Linked DNA regions of Homo sapiens: region 1 is linked to region 2. The links are contacts of gene promoters, found by promoter capture Hi-C in blood cells and fetal thymus (Javierre and others, 2016). All regions are on one chromosome and are shown on one strand. The core of a region is centred on a gene start or on the middle of the fragment in contact, and the rest is flanking DNA. Distances in the headings are between cores, read along the strand shown.

Region 1 (3,618 bases), core at 794-3,293, 460 kb before region 2:
AACTAGCCCAACCTATTCCTTTAATTTGGCCCATCCCTTCATTTCCCATAAGGGATACTTTTAGTTAATTTAACATCTATAGAAACAATGCTAATGACTGGTTTGCTGTTAATAAATACGTGGGTAAATCTCTGTTTGGGGCTCTCAGCTCTGAAGGCTGTGAGACCCCTGATTTCCCACTTCACACCTCTATATTTCTGTGTGTGTGTCTTCAATTCTTCTAGCGCTACTGGGTTAGGGTCTCCCTGACCGATCTGGTCTCAGCATTCTCTCCCTCACACTCAGTCTCTTCCTCTTTCTCACTTGGGACATTGTCTTTTAAAGTGACCTATTTTTTCACATTTGAAACAATTTTTCTGTCTTTTTTTTTTCTTCCTTTGAGTCTCCTGGCTTTACTCTTTCATACATTTTATATCACCTGGACAGTGGTGGTCTAGGTTCTTTATATGTCTGGCTCCCTTGGTACTTTGTTGTATGGTGGACAGCAAGATTTTTGCCTTTTGCTTTTGTTTTTCTTTTTCTCTTCTTACATATACTGTTTGGGATTTTTTTTTTTTTGAGACAGAGTTTCACTCGTTGCCTGGGCTGGAGTGCAGTGGTGTGATCTCAGCTCCTGCAACTTCTGCCTCCTGGGTTCAAGTGATTCTCCTGCCTCAGCCTCCCAAGTAGTTGGGATTACAAGCAAGTGCCACCATGCCTGGGTAATTTTGTAACTTTAGTAGAGATGGGGTTTCTCCATTTTGGTTAGGCTGGTCTTGAACTCCTGACCTCGGGTGATCTGCCTGCCTTGGCCTCCCAAAGTGCTGAGATTTCAGGCATGAGCCACTGCACTGGTGTTTTTTTGGGCTTTTTAAAGAAACTCTTCTATAGGTCTGTATTTCTGGTTCTCTATTTTTTGTAATATTTTGTTAATATCTGGCCAACGATTAGTAACAAAATGAAGCTTTAACATCCCTCATCTGAGGGGGTCTTCTATTCTAGATTTGCATATTTCTCCATTTGCTCTTTGAGTTTTTTTCAGAATTTTATAGGTCATTTATTTTTTTCTTGTTGTGTATTGAAAGCTTTTGTAATGTTTTGGATACAGGGTACAGATTCTCTAATTCTTTTAATTATCATTTCTCTAAGGTCTTTTCATTATTCTTCTAATATTTTAACATTAGGCCTAGGGGACTATCAGGGGAATATTATTGTTGCTAGCTTTATCCTTTTTCTTACCTTGTTTGGGGTATTTCCCATCTTGATGGTTTTAGGGTGAGGCTCAATCTCCCCTACTGGAGATTTCTTGCCTTTTGGGGTAAGTCTCAATTTCCCCTACTGGAAATTTCTTGCAATATGGGGTGAGGCTCAATTTCCCCTAATGGAAATTTTTTGCCTTCCTTGCTACTGGAGGTTCCTGTGAGGCTCAATCCCCCCTACTGGGAATTTTTTGCCTCTTCTTTCACTTCATCCTTCTCTAGCCATGTTAGGTCCCTCTTGGCATTGGTGGGTTGGTATAAACCCCCATCCTGGACTCCTTTACAGGTGGGTCACCCTAAGCCATATGAGGTGACCACAGAACTGCAGATCTAGACTTAACACTCATTTCACATGCAATTGTGCATCTTATTCATACACTATTAACTTCCAAGATACCCCTTCCAAGGAATACTTCACCACCCCCGCAGTTTTTCATGCCTTGGTGTGTCCTCACCAAGGAATATTTCACTGCCCCTGTGGCTTTTCTTAGCTTGGTCATGACCACCTAGGAAATACTTTGCCAGCTCCTGCAGCATTTCTTACCTTGGTCTGTGGACAGAGTTATCTGGTCACCACGGTATTTGTAGGTCTTTTCTTCCCATGTTGCTGAGAGTCCGGGTTTATTCATCACACTAGGGGGGTCTCCATTCCTTACCCCTGAGGCTACTGCAATGAGGCAGTGGGGCATGTGTCCTCACAGGAGAGGATGGAAAACCCTCTGGGAGGAGAATGGGGTCCTTGTACAGGCCACCAAATTGTTAGAAACATACTATTTGTGCTGCAAAAGAAATAGCAGTCGAACATAAATTTTCTCAGAAAGTCAAATTTACTTCTACAGAAGCATGTGTCTCGTGGATGGAGCAATGGCAAGAGCTCATCAGACAAAAGACAGCAGGGGTTTTTAATCCCTAATGCACTTGGCCTTAGTTGATGTGTCATTCCCCTATTGGTTGGGGTTGAACCACACAGTCTAAACTGAATGCAGTTAGCTAATTTGAAGAGTACAGGGAAGAACAGTTGTGGCAGGGAAGGCTGTTACAGCAGGGAGGGGGTGACTTCTTGGTGGGCATGCCTGAGCACAGCAGGATGGGAGGGGCTGATAGACTGGTGGGCAAGGTTAATTTAAGCAACAGGGAAATAAGACTTCAGGACAGACAGTACAAGGAAGTAAAGACCTCTTGCAGAGGAACACTTTGTAACAAAATGAAACCCTTTGAAGAGGAACTATCTAAACTACTTGTTTTTAACATTTATATTCGCATGTTTCTGGAGGCTGAAAATCTGAGATCAGAGTGCCAGCATGGCCCACTTCTGGTGAGAGCTCTCTTCCTGGCATGTAAATGCCTAATTCCTCATGTCTTCACATGATGGAGACCAAGAAACGGGTCGTGCTCTCACTCTCGCTCTCCCTCCCCACAGCCCCTTGTGTCCCTCGACCTCATTTAATGATACTCCCTAAAGATCCTATTTTGACATACACTCACATTGGGGTTTGGGGCTTCAACAAATGAATTTTGGGGTCATTGTTCAGTCCAAAGTACTTAATATGACTCTTTTCCCTTTCCACATAGGCAGTGAGATAATCTGTAAGTAATGACTTATTTTTCCCTTTCAGTCATTAGGTTATATAAATATATATTTTCTTGCTTTACTGAATGGATTTTAACCTCCAGCACAACACCAACTAAAAGTAGTAATGTCAGCATAGTTGTCTTTGCAGTTGTGGTGAGATATGTGCTCTATTTTATTGGCTTGGCTGTAGGTTTTTATTTTTTGAAGCTTCTATCTCCTACAGGAATATATATAATCCCAGCACTTTGGAAGGCCGAGATGGGCAAATCACAAGGTCAGGAGTTCAAGACCAGCCTGGCCAACATGGTGAAACCCCATCTCTACTAAAAATACAAAAAATTATCTGGGCTTAGTGGTGGCCACCTGTAATCCCAGCTACTTGGGAGGCTGAGGCAGGAGAATCGCTTGCACCCGAGAGGCGGAAGTTGCAGCGAGCTGAGATCATGCCACTGCACTCCAGCCCTGGTGATGTAGCAGGACAAGCCACAGACAAAACTCCGCAGACACGGAGCTAAAGAAGGAAGAGGTTTATTCAGCCGGGAGCATCGGCAGGACTCCTGTCTCAAGAGCCGAGCTCCCCGAGTGAGCAATTCCTGTCCCTTTTAAGGGCTCCCAACTCTAAGCGGGTCCATGTGAGAAGGTCGTGGTCGATTGAGCAAGCAGGGGGTACGTGACAGGGGCTGCATGCACCGGTGCTCAGAGTGAAACAGAACCGACCGGGAAGTTTTACAATGCCTTTCCATACAATGTCTGGAATCCATAGATAACATAACTGGTTAGGTCAAGGGTCGATCTTTAACTACCAGG
Region 2 (3,769 bases), core at 52-2,551:
ATGAACAAAGGATACCAGAATACTCACCCATTGCAATTAAAGACAAAACAAAGCAAGCAATATTCACATACGAAACCCAGAGAGGAATGAAAGCCATCAAGCAACCAAAATAATGTGACCAAGGAGGCAGAATTTGCAGGCCTAGGTGTTAAATTTTGCTGCCATTTCTATCCCATATAACAAAAAGGATGGAGATGATGAGATTTGATGATTCTGCCATGCAGCCTGCACAGGGCACTTTGAATGTCCTTGTTCCTCAGGCTGTAGATGAAGGGGTTCAGCATGGGGGTGACCACAGTGTACATCACTGAAGCCACCATACTCTTCCTGGGGGATGGTAACACAGCTGAACTGAGGTACCCTACAAGCCCTGTTCCATAAAATAAGCAAACAACTGCCAGGTGAGAGCCACAGGTGGAGAAGGCTTTATACTTCCCATCTGATGTTGGAACTCTCAGAATGGGGGAAACAATTTTATAGTAAGAGAAAAGGATCCCTGAGATAGGGAGACAGCCAAATATGGCACCCATGAAATATATGACCATTTCATTGATGAAGGTGTCGGAACACCTAAGGTGGAGGAGTTGAGAAGGGTCACAGAAGAAATTAGAAATGTCCACATCCTTGAAGCAGGTGAGCTGTAACATAATCAAATTGTGCAACTGGGAGTCCAAAAGACTAATAAAAAAAGACAACAAGATTAAGAAGCCACAGAGGCGTGGGTTCATGATGATTCGGTAGTGCAGGGGGTGACAGATGGCCACAAACCGGTCATAGGCCATCACACTCAGGAGCATGTCATCCATACATGCAAAAAGGACAAAAAAAGACATCTGAGTCAGGCAGCCTTCATAGGAGATGACTCTGCTGTGAGTTTGCATGTCCACAATCATCTTGGGGACCGTGGTGGAGGTGAAACCGATGTCAGCCAAGGACAGGTTGGAGAGGAAGAAGTACATGGGGGTGTGGAGGTGGGAGTCAGAGCTGACAGCCAGGATGATGAGCAGGTTCCCCAGCACCGTGACCAGGTACATGGACAGGAACAGCCCAGCGAGGACCGGCTGCAGTTCTGGATCCTCTGAGAGTCCCAGGAGGAGGAATTCTGAGACACCTGTGAGATTCTGTGGCTCTGTGTAGCTCGGACACCTTTTGAGGAAAAAAAAAAAGAGAATTGGAAAATAGGACATAAGTAAACCAGCATCTAGCACTGTGTCTATATTTTGGATACAAGCAATTAAGAAATTAAGTTTTCACATAGGATTATACACCCTCAGCAATAGTTCTCAGTTGTGACAAACCCAATTTCCTTAGAGTTACTTCATAATTGATTTTGTGTTATTCACCTCTTTCTGTATACACTTAACTTAGAGACAGTCTATTGAAGAATGTTAGGAGAGCAAAAACATTAGAGATTTTAGAAATCCATGATCACGGTAAAATATAGCCTAATTTATCAGGAAAAAATATACAACAAAAATATTCTTGCCCCTTTAAGAAAAAGATTAAATCCATTGAAAGGATACTAAGAAGGAGTCAGCTATGTCTTGTTTTATTCTAATACAATTCTACAAATTCCATTGATTGAGGATATTTATCAACACTCAATGAGATCTAGGATCATGTTGTCTCAAAACTCAATGAAAGTTCATAGTTCATAGCCAGAAAACATCTTTACATACCAGTTATATTCTACGGTTTCCATCATTCTTACGTTTTCTGACTTTCATTCTTCATGGAAGTAAGTACTCACTCAAATATGTGGGCTTTCTTTTAAAATTCACTTAATTATAATTCCTGTCCTTGCCTTAGGTGGACTTGGAGTTTTGATAAGAAAGTAGCCCAGGGTGGTGGCTCACACCTGGAATCCTAGCACTTTGGGAGGCCAAGGCAGGAGGATTGCTTGAGGATGTGAGTTTAAGACCGGCCTGGAAAACACAGCAAAACCCCATCTTTACAAAAAACTAAAAAATTAGACAGGCATGGTGGCGCCGCCCTGTAGTCCCAGCTACTCAGGAGGCTGAGTCAGGAGAATCGCTTGAGCCCTGGAGTTCGAGGCTGCACTGAACCATGATCATACCACCGCACTCTAGGCAGAGTGGCAGAGTGAGACCTTGACTATTAAATCAATAAGTAATTAAAAGGAAGGTTTAGTTAAATGCACATAATTACCAGGACATCACTGATAGCAAAGATGTTGATAGTGTGCAACGTACCTGTGGATGACAGAACATTAATATAATGTTAAAATGCTTTTAATTTTTTTTTTTAAGACCTGAGTCTCGAAGTTTTGAGCCTGTCACCAGGCTGGAATGCAGTGGCATGATCTCAGCTCACTGCAGCCTCCGCCTCCTGGGTTCAAGCGATTCTTATGCCTCAGCTTCCCGAGTAGCTGGGACTACAGGCGCACGCCCCACCATGCACAGCTGATTTTTGTATTTTTAGTAGAGATGGAGTTTCACCATGTTGGCCAGGCTGGTCTCAAACTTCTGACCTCAAGTAATCTGCCCACCTCTGCCTTTCAAAGTGCTGGGATTACAGGTGTGAGCCACTGTGCCTGGCCAAGGTAATGTTAAAATACTTTGGCATTACTTTCGTTGTGGCTGGAATCATGTGAAACTCTAAAATGTATCTTGATCTAAACAATAAGGTTTACCTGCCCCCACTTCCTTCTGCATCCTTTTCTCTTTTTTTATGCCTGTAAAAATCTCTGCCATGGTCTTTAAGTAATTGAATGTTGTAGATGCTATTATTATGTGTCCATAATATAGACACAAAAAAGTGCTATTTTACCTTCTGCCTAGTTTGTGACACATTCCTGGAAGGAATGAAAGTACAGATAGGAAAGCAGTGAGTGTGTTGAAGTCACACTGATCACAGCCAGTTTTGTGAACTAAGGAAGGGTCTATTCAATATGTAACAGAGATTCTAATTTTTGGTGTCTCCTCTGTACCAAGCAAGATACAGGCTCTGGGAAATCAGAGTTGAAAGAAACTCAAATATTCCTCTCACAATCCTCAGTACTTACTTATATAAGGGCAAAAATTAAATGTCCTGTCAGAGACATTGGGAACCATAGCTAGGTTCCTGGATATTTCAGTTCAATGGTATGGAGATTAACCTTGGAATATTAATAGAAAACATGTAGAATACACTTCACTTTATGCATCCATCACATAGGGATCACACAGGAGCACACACGGTCTGTTTAATCATTGCTCACTGCAGTGGGATCTACCAGAAATCAACTCAGATGATAGTGTTGAGCCTCAGAGACACAGACATCTCACCCCTTGTCACACAGATCAGGGGCATGGGCAGGATTTGGAATTAAATGGTTGGTCTTTGAGTCTCTGGCACTAAACTTCTTCATTGTTTCCCAGCTCTCAGAAAGTTTTAAGCAATGGCCAGAGGTCTTAAGCACAGGTGCATCTGAAGCGCATTTTGAAACTATTTCCGGTTTCCTGAATAGAAATGGATTCCAAGACCCTGATTTTATTTCTCCTTTGAGGAAGTAGAGAGCTGCAAGGAAAGCCAGAAACAGGGGCAAGGGAGAGATGCGCCCTGAGTGATCCTGTGCCAGTTCTTTCTGGGATCTTTGATGTGATCTCAGCTGCCCTTTCTATACTTGACACAGTGAACGTGGCACCCACTGGTCTAGCTGTGGTCTACCAGGAAGCCCCAAAGGGAAGGGTACAGTTAGCAGGGGCACCTGCTGGGTGTGACACGGATTCGAGGGGGGGAAGGTTGGATGCAGAGAGAGGCCTGGCCA

The links. The method cuts DNA at HindIII sites, captures the fragments that hold promoters and counts their contacts. A CHiCAGO score of 5 or more calls a contact.
Region 1: a fragment that was not itself captured here is called in contact with the fragment with the promoter of OR7E24 in region 2 in 3 of 17 cell types (total CD4 T cells, non-activated CD4 T cells and total B cells); the score reaches 5.9 in total CD4 T cells.

What each region holds. Positions count from the first base shown.
Region 1 is chr19:9,708,157-9,711,774 of GRCh38, reverse strand. It overlaps LOC105372270 (a long non-coding RNA gene), which reads right to left and starts at 2,115. Exons shown (of 2, transcript NR_187774.1): 1 at 1,783-2,115. RefSeq lists a silencer at 3,435-3,618. The HindIII fragment of the contact is 1,954 bases long and covers 1,067-3,020 here.
Region 2 is chr19:9,248,462-9,252,230 of GRCh38, reverse strand. OR7E24 (olfactory receptor family 7 subfamily E member 24) reads right to left here and starts at 1,301. Exons shown (of 1, transcript NM_001079935.2): 1 at 1-1,301. The coding sequence starts at 1,187. The coding sequence ends at 168. The HindIII fragment of the contact is 19,830 bases long and covers 1-3,769 here.